Linked DNA regions of Homo sapiens: region 2 is linked to region 1. Evidence: promoter capture Hi-C in 16 types of primary human blood cells and fetal thymus (Javierre and others, 2016). All regions are on one chromosome and are shown on one strand. The core of a region is centred on a gene start or on the middle of the fragment in contact, and the rest is flanking DNA. Distances in the headings are between cores, read along the strand shown.

Region 1 (6,775 bases), core at 812-3,311:
AGCCGCCAGCCAGTGAAGTATCCCCGGGGCGGTGTGAGGCCTGTAACCCACCAGCTGTCCAGTCTGGCCCTGGTGGCTTCCAAGCTGTGCGAGGAGACCCCCATCACATCAGTGCCCAGAGGGAGTTTGCGGGGGCGGGGGCCCAGCCCTGCAGCTGCCTCCCCTGAGGGCAGCCCCCTGCGCCGCACCCCGCTGCCCAAGCATTTTGAGATTACCCAGGAGACAGCCCGGCTACTCTCGAAATTGGACAGCGAGGCTGTGCCCAGGGCCACCTGCTGCCCGGACGTCCAGCCTGAGGAAGCCGAGGACCATCTCTGACCACCCTGGCACCTTAAATAAGGAAGAGGCCCAGATTGTGAAGACGGACCCATATATCCCTACCTCCCACCACCTAGTGGCCAAACACCCCGCCAGGAGTTCAATGCTGGGAGAGGTCCAGAGGGTTCCTATAAGGAAAAACTATTTAATACATGACCTAGGGGAGGCCTAAAACCCTTTTGGGGATAATGTCCCAGAGTCCCCCCACTAGACACAGGTCACTGCCAAGCATCAGGGCCACTCGGGCTCAGAGGTCACTCAGGGTCAATACTCAGGGTCAGTGCAGGTTATGAGATCCTTGGGGTCCACCCTAGTCTCTGACACCTGGGACAGGGGTGCTTTTGCTACTTTGGTTGTGGTCACTCCCCCACACCTGCCTGCCTCCTTCACGGACTCGAAGTGACCTTCCTGGAGGAGGTGGGCAGCTCAGACTCCACATGCTGGTGGTGCCTGAGGTCTGATGGCCTCTAATAAACTGTGTCCTATATGCCCTTGGGTGCATCTCTGCTAGGGGAGAGGCCAGCATGGGTAGCACTCCTTGCCCCCATTTTACAGATTAGGGGAATCAAGGCCTCTTTTTTTTTTTTTTTTTTTTTTTTTTTTGAGACGGAGTTTTGCTCTGTCTCCAGGTTGGAGTGCAGTGGCACGATCTCCGCTCACTGCAACCTCCACCTCCCGGGTTCAAGCGATTCTCCTGCCTCAGCCTCCCGAGTAGCTGGGACTACAGGCGCCTGCCACCATGCCCGGCTAATTTTTTTGTATTTTTAGTAGAGACGGGGTTTCAGCATGTTGGCCAGGATGGTCTCGATCTCCTGATCTCGTGATCGTCCCGCATCGGCCTCCCAAAATGCAGGGATTACAGGCGTGAGCCACTGCGCCCGGCCTCAAGGCCTCCTTCTTGCATCATCAAACACCCTGCAGCACCTACGTAAAGGCAGTTGGAGCTGGGTCGCAGCACCCGGCTGAGTCACGCCAGCCCGGCCCTCCCGGAGCTCTGCGTCCCCGATCCGGTCCTGCATAATCAAATACAGTATAACAAAGTACCGATAACCGGGACAATGGGGCTGTGTGCTCCGGACCGTGGGAGCCCGGGGCCGCCGCAGGGAGGCCGAGGGAGGAAGCCACAGGGCAGGGCAGGGCAGGGCCGGGCTTTGCAGGGGGCAGCGCTGTCCCAGGGTGAGGGGTACGGGGGCGGGATTGCAAAACCCTAGCGTGCGCCCGATGATCAGCTGGGGCCGCAGAGGTGGGCCTCGCACAGGAGGCCGCGGCTCGCTGATACTGCGAGCTGGCAAAGCCGAAGCTGGGCGGGGGTCCGGGCGGTGGGAGCCAAGTCGGATCAGGGAGTGGCTTGTAACTCGGCGGCCGATTGGACACGAAGAAGAGAGCGGGGTGGGGCTGGGAGGGTTGGGGGTCCGGAGCGGGGGCGCGGACCCAAGACCACCTGGAGCTCCGCCCGGGCAGCGCGGGGTCACGGCGGGAATTTTCGGGTCGCCGAGTGACTCAGCCCCGCAGGCTCGAAACTGCGGGCGCATGAGGTGTGCAGGTACCGGGGTGGGGGTCCCGCGCCGGAAATAGGGGCGACTGAGGGGCCGCGAGGCGGGGAGGAAACAGGGGGGCTGCGGTTCCGGGCGACACCGCCCCCGACGCGGCCGTGGAGGCGGGGCTCCCCCAGGTGGCGGGGCGGGGCAGGGCTCCCCCAGGTGGTGGGGGCGGGGCGCCGGGGAGACCCCGCCTCCCGCGCCCTCTCAGCAACCCGCACAGGGCGCACCCGGACGCTCTACCGCTCCCGCCGCAGTCGCCGGGCCATGGGCCTCGAGCCCGCCCCGAACCCCCGCGAGCCCGCCTTGTCTGCGGCGTGACTGGAGGCCCAGGTGAGGCCTGCACGGACGGGAGGCGGGCGGGTGCGGGCCTGGGCCCGGGGGAAGGGCGCGGCACGTGCCTGCGGGGCCAGGACGCCGCCCTCTGATCCCTTAACCCCCTACCCCTTCCCCAGTCTGGAGACGCCTGGAGGCCCGGCCATCCATCCCTTCCCCAACCGCTGTCTTTGTCCCGGAGACCGCCAGTGTCCTCCGTCCCACCCGGAACAGCCTATTGCCCCGCCCGCTTGGGAAGCACTCGCGCCCAAATCCCGCCGACTAACTTCTGGGGCCGCCTCTCTGTCCACTCCGATCACCTCCACGCCTCGGCACCGCCCCCTCGCAGGGTTCTAGCAAGTGACCTCACCCTTGTGTGCACACGCTCCCGGGTCTCTGCTCCCTACACTGACTCCGGCACCAAAGTGATCCTCCCTCATCTCTTCCCGCAGCTCACACCCCTTTGTCTTTCCCTAACCCTCCTCTCCCCACAACCCAAACCGGGTCACACATTGGCGGCAGGTGGGCTGGGATTCGACCATAGATGGGTTTTGTTTCACTTCTGGTTCAAAAACCTATTGACTTGGGTGATGTCTTGCACACAGGTCTTATTAGTAGGTAAGAAACAGCTGCTCCTCCACCTCCACCCCAGCCCCATGGAGCTTGCTTTTTCCAGGCCACCGTAGTCCTCACCACTGCCACTTTGCTTCGAGGTATCTGAATTTGAGACCCTTGTCCTTCCTGCGCTGACCCTCCTCTGCAGCTGCCGCCCCTCCCTGTGTCCTTCCAAGAAGTGCCACATGCACTGATCTCTTGTGTCCCCAGATGGTCATCATGGGCCAGTGCTACTACAACGAGACCATCGGCTTCTTCTATAACAACAGTGGCAAAGAGCTCAGCTCCCACTGGCGGCCCAAGGATGTGGTCGTGGTGGCACTGGGGCTGACCGTCAGCGTGCTGGTGCTGCTGACCAATCTGCTGGTCATAGCAGCCATCGCCTCCAACCGCCGCTTCCACCAGCCCATCTACTACCTGCTCGGCAATCTGGCCGCGGCTGACCTCTTCGCGGGCGTGGCCTACCTCTTCCTCATGTTCCACACTGGTCCCCGCACAGCCCGACTTTCACTTGAGGGCTGGTTCCTGCGGCAGGGCTTGCTGGACACAAGCCTCACTGCGTCGGTGGCCACACTGCTGGCCATCGCCGTGGAGCGGCACCGCAGTGTGATGGCCGTGCAGCTGCACAGCCGCCTGCCCCGTGGCCGCGTGGTCATGCTCATTGTGGGCGTGTGGGTGGCTGCCCTGGGCCTGGGGCTGCTGCCTGCCCACTCCTGGCACTGCCTCTGTGCCCTGGACCGCTGCTCACGCATGGCACCCCTGCTCAGCCGCTCCTATTTGGCCGTCTGGGCTCTGTCGAGCCTGCTTGTCTTCCTGCTCATGGTGGCTGTGTACACCCGCATTTTCTTCTACGTGCGGCGGCGAGTGCAGCGCATGGCAGAGCATGTCAGCTGCCACCCCCGCTACCGAGAGACCACGCTCAGCCTGGTCAAGACTGTTGTCATCATCCTGGGTAAGTGGGGCCCCCAGGGGGCAACAGGGACCCTGCTTCCCCCTATCTCCCACAAGACACTGCGAAGCAATGAACAAAACAAGCTACCTGATAGAGGGTGATGGGGGATGATTTAGGTGGGGAATGTCCTCCAAGGAGGTGATAATGTATGTGAGCAGAGGCCTGAATGCTGAGGATAGGAACAGAGAGCCTTCCAGGCAGAGGAAACGGAAAGTAAAAACCTCAAGGCAGTACGAGGCCAGAGCCTCTAAAGAGGAAAGTGGGCTTGTGAGGAGGAGAGATCAGCAAGGCCTTAAGGGGCACGGACAGGAGTCTTATTTTGAGTTTCATGGGAACCCCTTAAGAGTTTTTAGCAGTGCTAGCCGGGCACAGTGGCTCACGCCTGTAATCCCAGCACTTTGGGAGGCCGAGGCGGGCAGATCAGCTGAGGTTGGGAGTTCACGACCAGCCTGACCAACATGGAGAAACCCCATCTCTACTAAAAATGCAAAATTAGCCAGGTATGGTGGTGTGTGCCTGTAATCCCAGCTACTCGGGAGCCTGAGGCAGGAGAATTGCTTGAACCCAGGAGGCGGAGGTTGTGGTGAGCCGAGATCACACCATTGCACTCCAGCCTGGGCAACAAGAGCGAAACTCCAGAACTCTGTCTCAGAAAAAAAAAAAAAAAAGGAGTTTTTAGCAGTGCTAAGCCTGTTTTAACAAAAAGCCTTTAAATTGTTTTTTAATCTATATGTATTTTTAATTTTTTTTTTTTTTTTTTGAGACAGAGTCTCGCTCTGTCACCCAGGCTGGAGTGCAGTGGCGCAATCTCGGCTCACTGCAACTTCTGCCTCCCAGGTTCAAGTGGTTCTCCTGCCTCAGCCTCCTGAGTAGCTGGGACTACAGGTGCGTGCCACTATGCCTGGCTAATTTTTCTATTTTTAGTAGAGACCAGGTTTCACTATGTTGGCCAGGATGGTCTCGATGTCTTGACCTCGTGATCCACCCGCCTTGGCCTCCCAAAGTGCTGGGATTACAAGCATGAGCCACCACGCCCGGCCCATATTTTTAAATTTCAAAATTTATTTTTGTTTTTAAGATACAGGATCTTACTCTTGCCTAGGCTGGATTACAATGGCTCCATCATAGCTCACTGCAGCCTCAACCTTCCGGGCTCAGGTGATCCTCCCGCCTCAGTTTCCTGAGTAGCTGGGACTACAGGCATGTGCCACCATACCTGGCTAATTTTTTATTTTTTGTAGAAACGAGGTCTCACTATATTGCCTAGGCTGGTCTTAAACTCCTGGCCTCAAGTGATTGTCCTGCCTCAGCCTGTCAAATGCTGCAGTGAGGTGTGATCGTGCCGCTTCAGTGAGGTGTGATCGTGCCACTGCACTCCAGCCTAGGTGACAGAAGGAGACCCTGTCTCAAAAAAAAACACACAGGCCAGGCGCAGTGGCTCATGCCTGTAATCCCAACACTTCGGGAGGCTGAGGCGGGCGGATCACGAGGTCAGGAGATCGAGACCATCCTGGCCAACATGGTGAAACCCCATCTCTACTAAAATACAAAAAAAAAAAAATATAGCCGGGCATGGTGGCACACACCTGTAGTCCCAGCTACTTGGGAGGCTGAGGTGGGGGAATTGCTTGAACCTGGGAGGCAGAGGTTGCAGCAAGCCAAGATTGTACCACTGCACTCTAGCCTGGCGACAGAGCGAGACTCCATCTCACACACACACACACACACACACACACACACACACACACACACAAAATGTCCAGTGCCTTGGCCACTGTGTACCAATTAGCATAGATGTCCCATCTTAGCAGGCCTTCCTGTCACACTGCAGAATCAGGGAAACAAGCAGCTCTTGCACTGCAAACTTCACCACTATTGCTCGAGCTCTGGAGACCACTCCAACCCCAAACTGAGAGCTGTAGGTGCCGGGCCTCTGACAGCTTGCCCTGCTCACTTCCGCCTCTGTCCCACAGGGGCGTTCGTGGTCTGCTGGACACCAGGCCAGGTGGTACTGCTCCTGGATGGTTTAGGCTGTGAGTCCTGCAATGTCCTGGCTGTAGAAAAGTACTTCCTACTGTTGGCCGAGGCCAACTCCCTGGTCAATGCTGCTGTGTACTCTTGCCGAGATGCTGAGATGCGCCGCACCTTCCGCCGCCTTCTCTGCTGCGCGTGCCTCCGCCAGTCCACCCGCGAGTCTGTCCACTATACATCCTCTGCCCAGGGAGGTGCCAGCACTCGCATCATGCTTCCCGAGAACGGCCACCCACTGATGGACTCCACCCTTTAGCTACCTTGAACTTCAGCGGTACGCGGCAAGCAACAAATCCACAGCCCCTGATGACTTGTGGGTGCTCCTGGCTCAACCCAACCAACAGGACTGACTGACTGGCAGGACAAGGTCTGGCATGGCACAGCACCACTGCCAGGCCTCCCCAGGCACACCACTCTGCCCAGGGAATGGGGGCTTTGGGTCATCTCCCACTGCCTGGGGGAGTCAGATGGGGTGCAGGAATCTGGCTCTTCAGCCATCTCAGGTTTAGGGGGTTTGTAACAGACATTATTCTGTTTTCACTGCGTATCCTTGGTAAGCCCTGTGGACTGGTTCCTGCTGTGTGATGCTGAGGGTTTTAAGGTGGGGAGAGATAAGGGCTCTCTCGGGCCATGCTACCCGGTATGACTGGGTAATGAGGACAGACTGTGGACACCCCATCTACCTGAGTCTGATTCTTTAGCAGCAGAGACTGAGGGGTGCAGAGTGTGAGCTGGGAAAGGTTTGTGGCTCCTTGCAGCCTCCAGGGACTGGCCTGTCCCCGATAGAATTGAAGCAGTCCACGGGGAGGGGATGATACAAGGAGTAAACCTTTCTTTACACTCTGAGGTCTCCAAAACATTTGTTGTTATCAATTCAGTGTTTCTGTCCCTGTGTCCCGGAATTGTCTACCTTGGCCCAAGTCCAGAAAGGATCTTTCAACATGGTATCTCCTTGGCCCTGTGCTCGCTCTTCTTCAGTCTGGCTGGCTGTTATTCCATCTCTCTC
Region 2 (6,365 bases), core at 3,661-6,160, 1.4 Mb before region 1:
CAAGCTTGAGAATAGTAACCTGGGAGCAAAGACACATTTTCCAGAGACTGAACAAATAAGAAACTGAATCCCTGAATAGACCAATAACAAGCTCCAAAATTGAATTAGTAAGAAATAGCCTACTAGCCAAAAAAAAGCAAAGAACCAGACAAATTCCTAGCTGAACTCTACCAGATGTACAAAAAAGAGCTAGTACCACTTCTACTAAAAATACTTCAAAATATTGAAAAGAAAGGACTCCTTTTCAACTCATTATATATAAGAATAGCATCATTCTGATATCAAAACCTGGCAGAGATTAAAAAAAAAAGAAAACTTCAAGCCAATATCCTTGATGAACATTGATGAAAATACCATCAACAAAATACTGGGAAACTGAATTCAGAAGAACATCAAAAAGCTAATCCACTATAATCAAGTAGGCTGCATCTCTGGGAGGCAAGTTGGTTCCATATACAATCAATAAATGTTATTCATCACATAAAGAGAACTAATAACAAATACCAAGATTATCTCAATAGATGCTAAAAATACTTTCAATATAATTTAACATTTTTCATGTTTAAAACCCTTAACAAACTAGGCATTGAAGGTATATACTTCAAAACAATGAGACATCAACGACAAACTTACAGCCAACACACTGAATGGACACAAGCTGGAAGCATTCCTCCTTGAAAACTGGCACAAGATAAGGATGCCTTCTCTCAAACATCCTATTCAACATAAAATTGGAAATCCTGGCCAGAGCAATCAGAGAAGAGATGAAAATAAAAGGCATCTGCCGGGCATGGGGGCTCACGCCTGTAATCCCAGCACTTTGGGAGGCTGAGGTGAGCAGATCACGAGGTCAAGAGATCGAGACCATCCTGGCCAACATGGTGAAACCCCGTCTCTCCTAAAAATACAAAACTTAGCTTGGCATGGTGGCATGTGCCTGTAGTCCCAGCTACTCAGGAGGCTGAGGCAGGAGAATCGCTTCAACCTGGGAGGCGGAGGTTGCAGTGAGCCGAGATCACACCACTGCACTCCAGCCTGGCGAGAGCAAGACTCTGTCTCAAAAAAAAAAAAAAAAAAAAAAAGAAAAGAAAAGAAAAAAGGCATCCAAACAGGAAGAAAGGAAGTCTAACTATCCCTGTGTGCAGATGACATGATTCTATATCTTCAAAACCCTATAGTCTCAGCAGGAAAGCTCTTTAAACTAATAAACAACTTTAGCAAAGTTTCAGGATACAAAATACACGTACAAAAATCAGTAGAATCTCTGTACATCAAAACATCCAAGCCAAAAGCCAAATCAAAAACATAATCCCATTCACAATTGCCACAAAAAGAATAGAATATCTAGGAATACAGCTAATCAGAATGGTGAAAGATCCCTATGACAAGAATCACAAAACACTGCTTAAAGAAGTCAGAGATTGGCCGGGCACGGTGGCTCACGCCTGTAACCCCAGCACTTTGGGAGGCTGGGGCAGGCAGATCACAAGGTCAGGAGTTTGAGACCAGCCTGATCAACATGGTGAAACTCCATCTCTACTAAAAATACAAAAACTGGCCAGGCGTGGTGGCGTGCGCCTATAATCCCAGCTACTCAGAAGGCTGAGACAGGAGAATAACTTGAACCTGGGAGGCGGAGGTTGCAGTGAGCTGAGATCGTGCCACTGAACTCCAGCCGGGGCAACACAGTGAGACTCCGTCTCAAGAAAAAAAAAAAAAAGTCAGAGATTACGGCCAGGCATGATGGCTCATGCCTGTAATCCCAGCACTTTGGGAGGCCGAGGCAGGTGGATCATGAGGTCAAGAGACGGAGACCATCCTGGTCAACATGGTGAAACCCCGTCTCTACTAAAAATACAAAAATTAGATCCAGGAGTGCATCCAGAGGAAACCATGCCATGGATCTGGGGCCCACATTACTATCTCATAAAAAGTGTGATGACCAGGTTTATGGATCACTCTGTTCTCAATGACAGAAACTTCAGTCTGTATTAAGAAGATATGGCTGCAGAAAGACAAGATGAATTGTGGAAAGAGTACAAAGAGGGGGAAAGTAGGAGGTTTCCCAGTTCCAATGGCTGACTAATGGGAGGAGGAGATGGAGAAAGCAGAGTAAACTGATTGGACTGAAAAAAAAAAAAAAAAAAGTACAAAAATTAGCCAGGCATGGTGGTAGGCGCCTGTAATCCCAGCTACTGGGGAGGCTGAGGCAGGAGAAATACTTGAACCTGGTAGGTGGAGGTTGCAGTGAGCCGAGATGATGCCGTTGCACTCCAGCCTGGGCAACAGAGTGAGACTCCGTCTCAGATAAAAAAAAAAGGAGAAATGTCAGAGGTGTATTGAATCAGGGCAAATCCATTTCGAATAGGGGCTGGGTAAAATGAGGCTGAGACCTATGGGGCTGCACTCCCAGATGGTTAGGCATTCTAAGTCACAGGATGAGACAAGAGTTCAGCACAAGATACAGGTTATAAAGATCTGGGTGATAAAACAGGTTGCAGTAAAGAAGGTGGATAAAACTCACCAAAACCAAGATGGGATGAGAGTGACCTTTGGTGGTCCTCACTGCTACACTCCCACCAGTGCCATGACAGTTTACAAAATGCCATGGAGACATCATGGAAACATCAGAAAATGACTTTATATTGTCTAATTGGGAGGCAAAAATAATCCACCCCTTGTTTAGCATATAATCAAGAAATAACCATAAAAATGGGCAACCAGCAGCCCTCAGGGCTGCTCTGCCTATAGAGTAAGCCATTCTTTTATTCCTTCTGTTTCCTAATAAACTTGCTTTTACTTTACTCTGTAGACTCACCCTGAATTCTTTCTTGAGCGAAATCCAAGAACCCTCTCTTGGGGTGTGGATTGTGACCCCTTTCCGATAAGAACTCTGCACATTTTCTTTTTCTCATTTAAAAAAATCAGCTGAATTTGTCTTCAGTGGTCTAAATAAAATTTTTCACAGGCTCCTGAACTTGGAGCTACCCTCAATCTGAGCCAATATACAACTCCATTTTATGTCCCTCCTAAGAACATGCTGACTTCAGGGTAAAACATTCTCTGATCTAAAATCTGATTATTTCACCCTTCATTTGTCAGTCACCTCCAACTTCTTTTTTTTTTTTTTAAGATGGAATCTGGCCCTGTCACCCAGGCTGGAGTGCAGTGGCGCGATCTAGGCTCACTGCCAGCTCCACCTCCTGGGTTTACGCCATTCTCCTGCCTCAGCCTCCCGAGTAGCTGGGACTACAGGCGCCCGTGACCACGCCCGGCTGATTTTTTTGTATTTTTAGTAGAGACGGGGTTTCACCATGTTAGCCAGGATGGTCTCCATCTCCTGACCTCATGATCCGCCTGCCTCGGCCTCCCAAAGTGCTGAGATTACAGGTGTGAGCCACAGCATCCGGCCGTCTCCAACTTCTAATTTTGTTTGCTCCTCCCCATGAAAGAAAGCCCTTTTCTGCCTAAACTTTGCAATCCTTAAGGTTCTTACAGTTGGTATTTCCTCCTGTTGCAATAGTCCTTTGGAATTCAAATTTTTAACATAAATCTAACTTTGTTAGGTATTACAAAGTCTAGAAACTGCCTTCAAACATTAACAACTTTATCATCAGTAAGACCCTCTCAATCTCCTACCATCTTAACCTTAACTGCATCTGCCTGTGGGTCCCCACCTTTCCAGGACTCTGTAGCTTCTCTCAGCAGAAAAGCTTCTTCCACAGCTAGAGTGAGCAGGCTAGGACATCTGCAGGGGAGGCTCCCCAGAAAAAAAACTAACTGGGCCTGTAATAAACTCCTTTTGCAGGCTCAATATTAGCCTTAGCTCTGAGTCACTGGGCTCAAGCTTTAATTTCTATGTTAGAGTTACTCACTTGGTTTTTGAAACTATGTGTTTGAAAAATCTAGCAAAATTAGTCACAGTGTTCATACAAGGGAAGGAAATTTTAAGGTGTTTGCAATTTATACCTCAATAAAAAAAGCAAAATATCTATTTCTTTCACATAATGTATGCATTATTTTATGAATTCCATTAAGAATCATTTAGTAAACAGTTAGTCATATGGGAAAACTTCTAGGTGGTACCAAGTTTCATCTCATAAAATTTAGCATGAAACTCAGAAATCAAGATAACAGGATTTGAACAGAGATGTTTACTGTCACAAATTTACCCTGCAGAGAGAGAAACTCATGTTTTCATGAATGTATGTAACTCACCAATTATCTACCACATTTTCTTGTAGAAATGTATTTATTTTCTACAAAAAAATGGAACAGAGATTTTCCCTACTCATTTCCTTGGTAGCATTCTAAAAGCTGAGCCTTAGAATTCTGTTTGAAATCACCCAGCCATAAAAAACACACCTGAGAAAATTCCTAAACTCACCCTGGGGGTAAAAAGGGAATAGAGAATTTTTAATGAATGGAATATATTATTAGATACTATTTTTTTTCTTAAACCCACCACTTTTATGCCTTTGGTAAATATTTTCCTACCTTTCAAGCCCTACTAATAGAATTTACAGCTAAAAAACTGAGGTTAAAATAAATGAACAAATCTTTTCAAGGTGACAAACCCAGGGAGTGGCAGTGCTGATGAAAAAACAGATGTGTCTGACTCATGTTTCAAGTCAGGCCATTCAATCACTTCAAACAGTCTTCCACCCACTCCTGCTCACTTATGTGCTCAAGAACCACCCACTCAGGAGATACCACACTATGCCCCAGTGACTGTCCCACGGGCATTTAACTTTGCAAGTTCTTACGCCATCTCACTGGGGTCAGTGTTTTTCTTTTTCTTTTTGTCTTTTGGGATACTATTTTTTCTGTCACAAATGTTCCACTTTTTTCCACTATTTTACTTTCACTATAGTTATTTCACTATTTTTCTGCCCCCTTAGACAATCCAGAGGCAAAAATTATTTGTTTTCCCCTCAATGCCACAGTCTGATTGGTTGACCAGCAATGTGTCTCCAAGAAATGAAAGCTGGGTTGGGTGAAGACAATTTTAACATCTCAAGGGGTTACCTTTTCATAAAAAGAGTACACCAGAAGATTCCTGTCAGCCCCAGGGCATCCACTTGCTTCCTTGAGAGGATACACTCCAGACTTCAGGTTCTCCTATGGGAGAAAATAACCCAGAAGCTGATATCCACTAGACACTCTAACTGACATAACCATGGCGGATATCTTGGTTTATCCCCAGACAATACTGAAACCCAGGACCAGAAAAAAACTGAAGGGTGACTGAGGACACAACACCCCATAAAGTTTCCAAAGGAAAACCCTGACCCAAAAACATCCTGAGACAAGATCTCTGTGCCCAGAGAAGATACAAGGAGAAGAAGCACAGAGAGTTTTTACAACACAGTGTCAGGGGATTATTCTTTGCTTTCTTCACATGGGAAATATTTACAAACAGATAACAAATCTTATTAAAAGCACCATTTAATACTTTGTCAGAAAATAACTAATTAAAATACGGTGTAAAAAATGTACACTAAAGGACAAATAGGTGATAATGTGAATTAGGTAGGAAAAGTTGGCATTTGGGAACGCCAGAAAGAACTGGAAATTTAGTATCTTACTGCAAGCCAGAGTGAGGCTGGAGAAATGGGGGACGGGGGTTAGACTTAAGACCCTGCTTGGGACACAGGTGAAAAATGCAGCAGAAAATCAGTTCCCCGTGGAGTGTGAAAATAATTGAGTGGCAGGCAATTAGACTGAGGTGTCTCTAGACCCTGGGTTCCTACTTTTAAAAAGATCTAACGTGGCTGGGCGTGATAGCTCACGCCTGTAATCCCAGCATTTTGGGAGGCCAAGGCAGGCGGATCACCTGAGGTCAAGAGTTCGAGGCCAGCCAGGCCAACATGGTGAAACCCCGTCTCTACTAAAAGTACAAAAATTAGCTGGGCAGGGTGGCAGGCGCTTGTAATTCCAGCTACTCAAAAGGCTGAGGCAGGAGAAGCTTGAACACAGGCAGCGGCAGAAGTTGTAGTGAGCCGAGATTGTGCCACTGCACTCCAGCCTGGGCGACAAGAGCGAGACTCCATCTCAAAAAAAAAAAAAAAAAAAAAAAAAAAAAATCTAACTCAGGCGCATCGTTTTGAAAATTACTACATTGAAAGACACAAAATTCAGGCTTAATCAACTGTATACTGCCAATTAAGGTCTGATTACACAACCAGAAAATTTTCACCTTTATTGTACAAACTAAGAAACTACATAACGGTACCTAACCAATTACTGAATTTGGCTTTCTTCATCATGCACCTTATAAAAGTCTTTCCTTCAAGCCCCGCCATGAACAACAAATTACAAACCACAGCTGGGTGCTCAACAGTTTTTTAATCACTCTTTGATTA

The links. The method cuts DNA at HindIII sites, captures the fragments that hold promoters and counts their contacts. A CHiCAGO score of 5 or more calls a contact.
Region 2: a contact is called between a fragment that was not itself captured here and the fragment with the promoter of LPAR2 in region 1, in 1 of 17 cell types (neutrophils). The highest score is 6.1, in neutrophils.

The regions. Positions count from the first base shown.
Region 1 is chr19:19,623,506-19,630,280 of GRCh38, reverse strand. It overlaps LPAR2 (lysophosphatidic acid receptor 2), which reads left to right and starts at 2,061. Exons shown (of 3, transcript NM_001395660.1): 1 at 2,061-2,189; 2 at 2,997-3,738; 3 at 5,712-6,626. The coding sequence starts at 3,006. The coding sequence ends at 6,025. GMIP (GEM interacting protein) reads left to right here. Exons shown (of 21, transcript NM_016573.4): 21 at 1-805. The coding sequence ends at 318. RefSeq lists silencers at 1,311-1,440, 1,811-2,310, 6,287-6,581 and an enhancer at 751-1,673. The HindIII fragment of the contact is 41,803 bases long and covers 1-6,775 here.
Region 2 is chr19:21,021,545-21,027,909 of GRCh38, reverse strand. ZNF430 (zinc finger protein 430) reads right to left here. Exons shown (of 5, transcript NM_025189.4): 2 at 5,029-5,121. Among named protein-coding and RNA genes, the nearest start is that of ZNF430, 4.1 kb to the right of the region's middle. RefSeq lists an enhancer at 3,232-3,732. The HindIII fragment of the contact is 2,121 bases long and covers 3,850-5,970 here.